3 separate regions of the Homo sapiens genome follow, and all the other regions are linked to region 2. The links are contacts of gene promoters, found by promoter capture Hi-C in blood cells and fetal thymus (Javierre and others, 2016). All regions are on one chromosome and are shown on one strand. The core of a region is centred on a gene start or on the middle of the fragment in contact, and the rest is flanking DNA. Distances in the headings are between cores, read along the strand shown. Region 1 holds the start of RBBP6 (RB binding protein 6, ubiquitin ligase). Region 2 holds the start of GTF3C1 (general transcription factor IIIC subunit 1). Region 3 holds the start of ARMC5 (armadillo repeat containing 5).

The links. The method cuts DNA at HindIII sites, captures the fragments that hold promoters and counts their contacts. A CHiCAGO score of 5 or more calls a contact.
Region 1: a contact is called between the fragment with the promoter of RBBP6 here and the fragment with the promoter of GTF3C1 in region 2, in 1 of 17 cell types (naive CD4 T cells). The highest score is 5.2, in naive CD4 T cells.
Region 3: a fragment that was not itself captured here is called in contact with the fragment with the promoter of GTF3C1 in region 2 in 1 of 17 cell types (fetal thymus); the score reaches 13.6 in fetal thymus.

What each region holds. Positions count from the first base shown.
Region 1 is chr16:24,537,564-24,541,774 of GRCh38, forward strand. It overlaps RBBP6 (RB binding protein 6, ubiquitin ligase), which reads left to right and starts at 2,003. Exons shown (of 18, transcript NM_006910.5): 1 at 2,003-3,229. The coding sequence starts at 3,064. RefSeq lists enhancers at 1-239, 1,666-2,660, 2,661-3,653 and silencers at 1,950-1,999, 2,270-2,449. The HindIII fragment of the contact is 3,955 bases long and covers 1-3,598 here.
Region 2 is chr16:27,548,212-27,552,079 of GRCh38, forward strand. GTF3C1 (general transcription factor IIIC subunit 1) reads right to left here and starts at 1,702. Exons shown (of 37, transcript NM_001520.4): 1 at 1,459-1,702. The coding sequence starts at 1,679. It overlaps KATNIP (katanin interacting protein), which reads left to right and starts at 1,933. Exons shown (of 28, transcript NM_015202.5): 1 at 1,933-1,966. The coding sequence starts at 1,960. RefSeq lists enhancers at 1,599-1,678, 1,689-1,798. The HindIII fragment of the contact is 1,688 bases long and covers 628-2,315 here.
Region 3 is chr16:31,458,328-31,462,188 of GRCh38, forward strand. It overlaps ARMC5 (armadillo repeat containing 5), which reads left to right and starts at 1,174. Exons shown (of 6, transcript NM_001105247.2): 1 at 1,174-1,672; 2 at 3,595-3,702; 3 at 3,804-3,861. The coding sequence starts at 1,198. RefSeq lists enhancers at 304-844, 843-1,182 and a silencer at 1,373-1,722. The HindIII fragment of the contact is 2,362 bases long and covers 150-2,511 here.

The DNA of each region.
Region 1 (4,211 bases), core at 753-3,252, 3.0 Mb before region 2:
AACAAAGTTTTTGGCAGATGAGAACGGTTGGACCAATAGACAACATTCTTTCCAAGGACATCCCCCCCTGCAGATTAGGTTATGATCCACTCTGTCATATCCTGAGGGTGTGGCCCACTTTGAGATCCCATGATGCACCACGCTGATTAAATTAGGCATTCAGTATATAAAGGGGTCGGCCACAGACGGGCAAAAGGAACAGATTCACCGCTTCGGAGTGAATTCCATGACGGCTTGCAATTTTCTCGTCGAGTTTTTCTTTCACTAGAGATAGCCCTCGCCCTTTCATTCACACAGAGGCTTTTAAGAAAAAAGCAACCAACCTGAAGAGGACCTGGCAGCAATAAGTTTTTGGTGAAATAACAAAGAGGTAAAAGTGGAAGAAACTTGTTATATATGAAAAGTACTGATGTGTGTGGTTGAGTTAAATTGTAATGGTATCTCTAGAGCTGCCCTTGACTACGGCCAAAATTTTATTGCCACGACATCTCTATGGATCACGTAAAAATGTATCCAGTTATTCAGCACGTATTTATTGAGCACCTACTATGTTCTAAGAGCTGAGGATACAGCAAAAACAAATATAAAGATAAGATTCCTATTGTCAGCCGAAGGTAGGGGTTGGGGGAGATAGATAATTAAAAAGTAAATGTGTAACTGTCAACTATCTGCAAGTGCTAGGAAGAAAAGACTAAAGGGATAGAGAAAGATCGCCATCTTATTTTAAAAAGATGGCCTTAGGAAGGCTTTTCTGGCAGGATGGTGATTAATTTTAAATCAAGTTCAGTAAGAATTTGGAGTGTGCTTGCAGGAAGTCCCTGGGAAACTCTGCTACTTCTCGGCTATAGGATCTTATTCTCAGTTGCCTAAATTCACTGAGCCTAGCCTGTAAAATTCAGAGAGGATGAGGAACATGGATTGTAAACGATAATAACTATCGTTTATGAATGTAATTTTATTATATTATGATTTTTTCTGAATGTAATAACGTCCCCATGCCCAAAGGAAAAAAAAAATTCCAATCTACTGAGGGGGTTCTTGTCACTGTTCCTGGCATTTGCGCTTAGGAATGGAATCGGGACCCTGCCACTGAGCAGGCATCCCCTTCTGCAAATTCAGAAAGTACATGATTGCTAGCTTCAGTTCCATCATCTATAAATCGGAAATAATGTCATGTTGACCACGTAGGGTTTTTGTTGTTAAATTGACATTTATTGAGCTACAGCTATTAATATTTCGGTGCATTGAGCCACGTCAATGCACCGGCATGGTCTTAGACTATGGATTTATGTGCATTTATTTAATCCAAGTAAACCAAGTACTATTTTTAATGGCATTTTACAGCCAAGGAGACCCAGGCACAGAGGGGTTAAATCTAGAGCCCCCACAGCCAGGGATCCAACCCAGACAACGTGGCTGCTGAGCCTGGCAATGTTGTTATGCGATCAGCCCTGTGCCTAGCACATAGTAAGAGCTCAATAAATCTGTATGGTGCTGGTGGCTGTTATCAGTTCTTGGCAGCGGCTGCTCCACGATTTCCACTTGTCAAGAGTATAGGGTAGCCAGTTTATTGGAAGCAGCAGCTAGGGAGCGCTTGCATAGCAACCATAGTTTTCTGCGTAGCAACCATAATGCTCACTTAAATTGGGAGGCTTAGAGGAGCTGACGGGGCCTGTGGGGAAGGGGGAGTTAGCCGGCCACCCCTAGGCAAGCCACTTTGCAGTGGAAACTGCACGCAGCCCCTGCAAGGCGAGCTCTCCCCACCGAGCCTCCCTGTGAGCCGGTCCTCCTGACGCGCAACCCCCCTCCCTTTTGAAGCAGATGGTTCTTCCCGTTGTCCCTGCTCTTTCAGTTTCCGCGCTTTGGAGTCACAAAGCGCGGGGTCACGTGGGCGGGCCGTGCGCTTTGTGACGTCAGCCGCCCCGCCTCTCGGCCCGCCTATCCGCGCACGCCAGCCCCGCCTCGCGCGCGCCGCCCGTGCAATCCCTGCTTAAGAGACCCCGCAGTGGGGCGCTCGTCCGAAGCCAGGCCGCGTCCGCCATAGTACCTGGCTTGGAGGTGTCGCCGCCGCTCGGTGAGAGCCCCCGAGCGGCAGGGGGCCAACACAAAAAGGGAGCCGGAGAAGCCCTAGCCGCTGCCCAGCAGCTTGCGGGCGTGTTCTCGCGGTTCCGGGCCTCAAGGCGACGGAAACGAAAGGCGAGCGAAGCGCGGAGGATCCGGCGAGAAGAAGCGTCAGGGAGCCTCGGCGGTGTCCCCGGGGTCCGCCGAAGCCACCCGGCCGCCGGCTGGGGCCCGGGGTGGTGAGGAAGTGCTCCGAGGCCTCGCCGAGGCCTAGCGCCGGCTTTGTGTCCGAGGCGGCGGCGGCGGCGGGGGGAGGCGGAGCCGGGGGCGGCCTGCGGGAAGGCCTCTCCTCCGCCGACCGCGCGTTTTCGGCCTAGGCCGTGGGGCCGCTCGTGGCCTCCGGGGAGCAGGCGCCAGGGGTTTGTGTGCGGTGGGGGCCTGGGCCTGGGCCTGGGGAAGCTGACGCCGGTCGTCCGGAAGCCAGGAGGAGGCGTGAGGCCGCTCGTGGACTCCGGGCCTAGGCCCTCTCCCCTCAACCTTCTCCCGGGGCCTGGGTCACCCCAATCCACGGAGAGAGAGACCCGCCGGGAGGTGCGGCCGCGCTATGGACCCCTGACCCCGTGGGGTCGCTCGGACTCTTAACGTGTGGACTGACCGCTACTGACTGCACCGCCAATCCCCCCGTCTCTGCCGGCCCCTTAGCATGAGCGAGGGGGACCCAGCCGGGTGACATTGTGCCCGTTGGCGGATTCTCGATTTCCCCTCTTCCCCGTCCTCGTCCTCCTCCTCCCCCATGAAGTGATTCTGAGTATCGGGGGGTCTCTGGATTATTGTTCTGACGAACCCCTGCTTGTGGTTGGGGGGTATTTAATCTGAGGCCTTAGGGTCCTTCGGTGTCTTTGAGTGTTTTGTGTGTACATATTTTGCTCTTAAAGTTTATAAATATACGTATATTGAGAGTGTCCACGTCTCCTCGCTGAACCTTAGGAATCCCTTGGCACCATGTCCTGTGTGCATTATAAATTTTCCTCTAAACTCAACTATGATACCGTCACCTTTGATGGGCTCCACATCTCCCTCTGCGACTTAAAGAAGCAGATTATGGGGAGAGAGAAGCTGAAAGCTGCCGACTGCGACCTGCAGATCACCAATGCGCAGACGAAAGAAGGTAAGGGCCGCTTGGTCTTAAGATATTTGGTGGCTGGAGAGAGATACTAGCTAGAAGGTGCCTGGCAGGAAGCTAACCGCCATTATGTCTCTAGTGGGGACTGTTCGTTCTAGTACTTTGGATACAACTTTCATTGATAGCCAAGGTTTGCAGCAGTTGGCCTTGGAGTTTCACTGGTTTATTTTATTTCTGCATACTTGGGTCATCTGTAACAGGCTAACCCAAAACGTGGAAGCCTGATTATTCTTCTCGCTGTTTTTTAAAATGAGGGAGGGAGGAGAGGGGGATAGCTATCTAGACTCTTTGAGTGCTTGTCTTAGGGCGTTTTCTAACTTATTTTCCATCAGGAGGGCAGGAGAGCCTGTGCAAAGCTTGTTTGTTCAATCAGCAAAAAAAAAAACAAAAAAAAAACCAAAAAAACAATTTTCTAACCTAACAACATTGTGGAGTTTGATGGCAAATTTTATGTCCTGCCTTCCTCCCTCCTCGCATTTATTTATTTGGAGTTGCTTGCCTGTGTTGTGGATAAGGGATCTGAACTTTAATATTTTTGAGGATTTAATCAGTATTGGAATTGTTTTTGGATCTTGAAATGTTCTGATGTCACCGCTCTTGTCTTGTGTGTCAATTCCAGAATTAGTAATACGGCAATTAAGTAGTTAAACTGTTAGTTCATCACATTACTCTTAAGCTTTATCAATTCGGTGAAGATCAAAAGTACTGATTTTTTTTAAAGTAGTAGTTGCTAGATTTTACGTGACTGTTGATACTAAGGTACTGAAAAATAGGCTGCTACCATAGAGTACAAATAAGCCACTGATAAGAATCGTTAGATTCTTTCTCCTTTTCAAAAGTATTTTGATAATATTGGGAACTTAACAGTAGATAAATGTGACAAGCAGTCTTTCCTGACTCTGAACTTGTTTTGGTTTCTTTTTCTCAGATCAGTAATGCTGATGTGTATTTTTTAGCAGTTCGGTGT
Region 2 (3,868 bases), core at 452-2,951:
CAGTCCTCTTTGCCAACTGGCTGCCTAAATCCAACCTTTAAGTTTTGTCTCGAACATTATTTTATTTTATTTTTGAGACAGAGTCTCACTCTGTCACCCAGGCTGGAGTGCAATGGCTGAATCTCAGCTCACTGAAACCTCTGTCTCCCAGGTTCAAGTGATTCTCCTGCCTCAGCCTCCTGAGTAGCTGGGATACAGGCATGCGCCACCACGCCAGGCTAATTTTTGTATTTTTAGTAGAGATAGGGTTTCACCACGTTGGTCAGGCGGGTCTTGAACTGCCGACCTTGTGACCCATCCACCTCAGCCTCCCAAAGTACTGGGATTGCAGGCATGAGCTGCTGCACCCGGCCTGTCTTGGACATTATTACCTCTTGGAACCTCCCCTGACCCTCACAATATGGCTTAAGAGCACAGACGCTGAAAATAGCCTGGGTTCAAATCAATTCTTAGTCACTTATTGCCCCCAGAACCTTAGGTTACATAATCCCTCTCTGTGACTCAGTGTCTTCCTCTGTAAAATGAGGACGATAACAGCACCTACCTCATAGGTGAGGATCAAGTGAATTTAATCTCCTGTTTAACGGAGTTTAATCAAGTGAGGATCAAGTGAGTTTAAGCTCCTAAAGCTTCTAGAATAGATTCTTAGAACAGCAATGTGGCCGGGCGCCGTGGCTCACGCCTGTAATCACAGCACTTTGGGAGGCCGAGAGGTGCGGATTGTCTGAGGTCAGGAGTTCGCGACCAGCCTGGCCAACATGATGACACCCCATACCTACTAAAAATGCAAAAATTAGCCGGGCGTGGTGGAACATGCCTGTAATCCCAGTTACTCAGGAGGCTGAGGCACGAGAATCGCTTGAACCTGGGAGGCGGACGGAGGTTGCAGTGAGCCAAGATCGCGCCACTGCACTCCAGCCTGGGCCACAGAGAGAGACTCTATCTCAAAAAAGAAAAAAAAGAACAGCACCTCACCCATGAAGTCCCTGATAAATGTCAGCTTTTAGCATTATCGCTAATTGTCCTGATACGCAGATCTCGAGTTGCCCTAGGCTATCTGCACCGAATGAATATACCATGAGGGTCTGTTGATCTCAGGAGTCTCCAGTCTGGCTCTAAAGTGTCTTTCCTGCTCTAATCCTATCCTCCAATGTAAAGGAAACATTCTTTTAAGCCTGAAGAATATCCCCAATCCTGTTCGCCATTACCCCAAAACACACACAGGGACAAAACGGGACATCACTAGATTCTCCCCCTCCCCCCGCCAACTCCATCGGACTCCAGGGCCCTGCCAGGCCTGAGGGACCCCAGATTAGCCTTACCGCCGTGCCCCAACTCAATCAACAGGCCTCCGGTACTTGCACAGCCCCACTCCATTCCCCCGCCCTGCCCCCAGCTCCATCAGCCCCCGGGCCCTGCGCCCGCCCGCCCGCCCGCCAGGCCAGGCCGCCCGCTGACCGGTCCTGGAGCTGTAGGTCGGGTCGCTCCCGAGGCTCCTCATAGAAGCTGATGCCCGGGTGCGTGGCGAGGGCCCGCCAGAGAAACTCCTGCGTGCAGGGTTCCAAAGGCAGCGGGAAGGGCGGCACTCGCGTCTCCAGCCGGCTCCACAGCGCTGGCAGACACAGGCCATCGAGCCCCTCCAGAGCGACTTCGTCCAACAACGACTCCAGCGCGTCCATTGCTACTTCAGTCGGCGGCGCCCGGGGCGCATGCGCAACGCACCGCCAAGGGCCTTGGTCCATCGCGCCTGCGCACAACGATCCGGGGCCCGGGGAGGTGGGTCAGACCCAGGGTTCGGAGGAGGAGTTCCAGCGCGCCGGCATGACGTCACTCCCCGGGGGCGGGCTCAGTAAGTGGAGCTCCACCGTCATTGGTCCGGGGCCCCGCAGTAACCAGGGGAACTGCAAACAGTGTAGAGGCCGCTTCCGGTTCGAGCTCCCGGAACCGCCGCCTCTAGGGATGGACGGTGAGTGTCTGTGGGCCCCTCCGGGAGGTCGGGCTGTTATTCTCCCATCCCTCCCGACCGCGCTTTGGGCAGAATCCTAGGCCATGAACCCCTGGACCACCACTTCCTGACCCAAGGGGGTCTCCGAAATGAGGGATAGGGAGGCTTAGTGGTCTGGAACGCGGAGGAGAGCCTGGGGGAGTGGTCAGTGCTGTGACCATTCTGCTCGGCTGTGGTCGTGAAGGAAACCGGTACTGGCCGGGAGCTCAGTGAAGGGATGTAGGGTGGGGAAGGAGAAGTAGAGGTCTGAGGAGGGTCTTGTGAATGTTGGGATGTGGAACTGTCGGATTTGGGAGTTGATATGAAAACAAGCTTGATCGTGGGAGTGCAATCGTCAGGTGCTGGGAAAGGGAATTGGTGTGGGGGGTGAAGGGAGTTTAGGAAATACTCCCTTTCTGTGCCTTGGCGTTAATAATAATAGCTCCCTTTAACAAAGTGCTTTCCAGTACCAAGAACTCTGTAAGTACTCTTGGGCAACACCTCGCTAAGCTTCATACCAGCCTTTTGAGTTCAGCGTTGTTCCATTTTACAGATGATGAAACTGAGGCTCAGAGGTGTTAAGGAACTTGCCCAAAGTCAAACAACCAGCATGTAGCAGAGTGAGTGAGAAACCCAGACACCCTGTCTCTGGAGCTGAATTATGGAGCTTGAGATTTGGACCGGTTTTGAGGGTCCCTTTATTCCAGAGGTTGTAAATGCAGATGTCTGCAGAGGAGAGTCTAGTGAGCCGGATTGAGGCTGTAACTGAAAATCAATTCCTCACCTGAAAGGAAAGCTGCTCACCAAGCACCAGCTGATTGTCCTCTTGGGGTACTTCTCAAAAACAGGGTTGGCCAGTCACTCTGAAGGCCAGAGACAGCTTGTGGGCCCCCATTTAGGGATCCCTGATTAGAGTCATGGTATTGACAATTGGAAGCAAATGGAAAATAGGCTATTCTGATATCTCACTTTGCAGATGGGAAGACTAAAGTCTAGAGAGACTGGTAGGGTCTGGGCTAGAGTCCAGATCATTTTTCTAATTACAGCACTGTCCCTCACTTCTCGGGAATTTGTTCCTGGGGAATCCACATTCTTTTTATATTCACTGAATGTAGTGTGGAGAAAATGTTTTTAATTGAACATTCTGTCATATGCTTAAAATATATCTTTTCCCTTTGTACTTTAGAGGTACTATAAAATGTGCTTTACCATTTTGCCTTCTGGAAAGGTCAATGTAATGTTGCTATAGAACATCAGTCCTCAAACCTTTTAAGCCTTGGGACCCCTGTATGCTCTTACCTCAAAGAGCTTTGTTTATTTATATTTATGATATTTACCATATCGAAGATTTAAACTGGGAAAATCTTAAGATGTCCATTAATTAGTTCCTTTAAAAATAATAAAAATTGGGCCGGGCATGGACTCGTGCCTGTAATCCTAGCACTCTGGAAGGCCAAGGCAGGTGGATCACTTGAGGTCAGGAGTTCGAGACCAGCCTGGCCAACATGGTGAAACCTTGTCTCTACTAAAACTTAGCCGGACGTGGTGACACATGTCTGTAATCCCAGCTACTTGGAAGGCTGAGGCAGGAGAATCATTTGAAGCCGAGATCTTGCCACTGCACTCCAGCCTGGGCAACAGGGCGAGACTCTGTCTCAAAAAAACCCAATAATAATAATAATAATTGGCCAGGTGCAGTGGCTCATAATAATCATAATAATAATTGGCCATGTGCAGTGCCTCACACCTGTGATCCCAGCAGTTTGGGAGGCTGAAGTGGGTGGATTGCTTGAGCTCAGGAGTTCAAGACCAGCCTGGGCAACATAGCTAGACCCTGTCTCAAAAAAACTCCAACAACAATAAACCCATTACTTCTGAACATAA
Region 3 (3,861 bases), core at 81-2,580, 3.9 Mb after region 2:
GGTGCTGGATCAGGTTGGAGCTGACGCTGAAAGTCTTACCACACTAGGCACAGGCATAGGGCCGAAGCGATGGTCACACTCGGGGCAGGAGTACGGCTTTTCACCGGTGTGTACCCAGTGGTGCTTAACCAGATCAGAGCCACATCGGAAGCTTCTGCCATAACCCGGACAACGGTAAGGCTTGTCACCAGAGGGGCTGCCTTGGTGGTGAATGAAGCCGGGGAGGCAGGCTGTGGTCAGTCCACATTTCCGGCACTCGCAGGTTTTGGGGCTTGTAGACGGTTGCTCTTGGCAAAGGCTTCTTCCTCCCCAGGGCTAGAGCCTGACCATTTTCCGGGCGGGCAGCTGCCCCGACCACACCAGGAAGGGCTGCTCAGGCGGAGCCACCTCGCAATCCAGGGGTGACCTGGGGGCTCCCCGGGACGCGAATGTCCCGCTCCCCCGCCGCCCCGCCCCGTCCGGATTCTCCCTCGCCTCTTCTGGCGCGGCCGACTGCGCTGCGAGTGAAGAACTCCCCGTTTCCTAGATGCCAGCTCCTGAGCTCACGAGCACGTCCAGAGCGGAGGACACTCGGGACACCGGGGTCCAGCTCCGGAAACGGAAAATTCCACAAGCCCGTCACTCTAGGAAGCGGCAGCGAACGTTCTCGGTAGGTTTAACCCTCTTCTTCCTCTGACCGAGCGAGGGCTCCCCGTCTGCGGCGCGGTCAGGACCCCGCACTTTCGGCCCGGCTCGGGGTTCTCGGAGTCCGTCCCAAGGCCGGGCCGCACCACCGCTGGGGGGCAGCGAAGCGAGCCTAGAGGAGAAAAGGCGGTCCCCGCCGAGTGCACGCCGGGGGCGGGGCACGGCACGAAGGCTCCGTGGTCGGACTTCTGGGCTGTTCGGAGGCCCTGGCCCACCTGGAGGGCCCTGGAAGAGTTTCCAGCGCTTCCCGAGGTAGGCGTGAGAAGCTCGACGCGGACCACATCTCCCTCATGCACCGCCCGCACGTCCCAGGATGCGCTGCGATTAAGGTACTGCCGCGCCTCGTGTGCAAGGACAGACTTCCGGGGTCGAGAACTACAACTTCCGACTTGCATCACTGCGGTGGCGCTAAACAGCGTCAGCGAGGCGGTGCCCGACGATTTCCCTGTCTTCCAGTTCCGCTCCCTGGGATCAGCGGCGAGAAGCGGGGCGGAGTCTGAGGCCCGAGCCAAGATGGCGGCTGCGAAGCCAACCCTCACGGACTCGCTCTCGTTCTGCCTCGCGCAGCTCGCGGCGGCGGCCGGGGAGGCTCTGGGTGGGGAAAAGGACCCAGCGACCAACGAGACACCCCTGAGCCGCGCGCTCCTAGCCCTCCGCACGCGCCACATCAAGGCAGCGGGGGGAATCGAGCGCTTCCGGGCACGCGGCGGGCTCCGCCCCCTACTCGCGCTGCTACGGCGAGCGGCTGCAGCGGGTTCCGCCCCGTCCCAGGCAGGCCCCGGCTCCGCCCCCTCGTCGGCCGCGTCGGGAGCTTCTAGCCCCGCCCCCGCGTCGGGCCCCGCCCCCTCCGCTGTGTCGTCGTCTAGTCCTACGCCGCCAGTGCGCCTGCGCAAGACGCTGGACTTGGCGCTCAGCATCCTAGCCGATTGCTGTACGGAAGGGGCGTGCCGGACCGAAGTGCGCAGACTCGGAGGCATACTCCCTTTGGGTAAGTGCTCCGCCCCCGTTTCCTAGAAAGATTAGGTTTGCAACTCCCTTGCTCTCTAGACCCGGGCAGTCTGGAGTTCTTTGTGTCCTATCCCGGAATAACGTGCTTTGTGATGGCGCATCGCTCCTGTTTCTCAATCTGTTGTGCCCCGTGACGTCACTGCACTCTCTATAGATGAGAGAGAGCCCTCCCAGACCAGATAATTGTAGCCATTATCTAGGAATTGGTTGTTGAGGACTTCTTTCGAAGCTGGACTAGCGGAGGCCAAAGAGTTATTTGGTGATTTTTTCAGATGATTCTTACCGTCCAGTTATGATGTTCATAGCAGACATTCAGTGCCCAACTATGTGTCCGGCCCTGTGCAAGGTTCTGAAGCCCCACTGATGAGCTGGAAGGTGTAGTGGTTCAGAAAGGGAGATCTGCAAAAGTCACCTAACCCCTCCGAGGCTAGGATTCCTTGTAAAATGGGGCAATAATAGCTACCTAAAAAAATCAGAGTGGGGAGAAAACGAAGTACAAATATGGCACGAATATGCAAATATTCTAAGCATGATACGTATTTCAAGTTATTAAAAACTAGCATAAGCTGGGTGCAGTGGTACGCGCCTGTAGTTCCAGCTATTTGGGAGGCTGAGGCGGGAGGATCCCTTGAGCCTAGGAGGTTGAGGCTGCAGTGAACAATGACTGCCTGTGAATAGCCACTGCATTCCAGCCTGGGCAACGTAACAAGACCTCGTATCTTAGAAAACCAAACAAATCAGTAGTCGCTTAGGAAGCAGGAAAAAATAAATAAAAATAATTAAAACCAGCACAGTAAGAACAAATCCTAGCAAAACATAAGCTTTTCTGTTTACCAGCTAAATTGGTGCCTCCTAGTGGCAATGTGTGAAAGCAGTTTACATGTCACTACCTGCCTTCCACGAAATTATGCTAGTTTTGATGACATCTTAACTTTTCGGATAAAGGGAAGCATTAATATATTTAAAATTTACATAAAATGTATCTGGACCATATATGTTTGACAAGAGCTTTGGTTATTAAATAACCCCCATCATTCAGCTACTATTTTTCATCTTAAATATCTTCTGAATTTATCTGCTTCTCTCTCTTCCTACTTCCATTGTGTGCCCAGAGACTGGTATCTCTGTGCTGTGTGATGCCAGTAGCTGGGTTGGTTCAAGCTATTGTCTTTTCATGCTTGGACTATTATGACAGCCTTTTGACTCCCCCCTTCCTATTCTTTCCCCATAATGCATTCTCCCTATGGATGTCAGATTGTATCGTGTCACTCCCCTTCATAAAACCCTTGTGTGGCCCCCAGTGCCTTCACATTCAAGTCCTGACCCCTTGGCCTGACATTTGAAGCCTTTCACAGACACTGTATCTTACCTCTGGGCCTTTGGAAAGGCTGCTTCCAAACCTGAAATGCCTTCTCACACCCCCATCCACCGTGCTTCTGGCAAATACCTTCCTGTGTACCCCTCCAGACCCAGCCCGAGTGTTAGCCTCTTTCTTTTTATTTTTTTGAGATGGAGTCTTGCTCTGTCATCCAGGCTGGAGTGCAGTGACACGATCTCAGCTTACTGCAACCTCTGCCTCCTGGGTTCAAGCAATTCTCCTGCCACAGCCTCCCGGGTAGCTGGGATTACAGGCGTGTACCACCATGCCCAGATAATTTTTGTATTTTTAGTAGAGATGGGGTTTGGCCCCGTTGGCCAGGCTGGTCTTGAACTCCTGACCTCAAGTGACCCACCCACCTTGGTCCCCCAAAGTGCTAGGATTACAGGCTTGAGCCACGGTGCCCTGCCGACCATTAGCCTCTTCTGAAAGCCTTCCAGGCCCTCTCAGGCCACATTCTCCAGGTTATTGATGTGAGAGACAGTAAGGGGTAGAACCCTCACAAGCCCAAACTGTCGTTGCAGTGACCATTCTTCAGTGCATGAAGACAGACAGCATCCAGAACCGAACGGCCCGTGCCCTGGGGAACTTAGCCATGGAACCTGAGAGCTGTGGGGACATCCACTGTGCTGGTAAGAGGCTGTGAGGTTGGGGTCTGCTAGGGCTTGGGGCAGAAGAAAGGCTTGAGTGTCTGTCCTTGTTCACCCTCTGTGCTCCCCTTTCCTGCCCTCAGGTGCTGTTCCCCTGCTTGTGGAGAGCCTGACAGCCTGCCAGGACTCGCAGTGCCTACA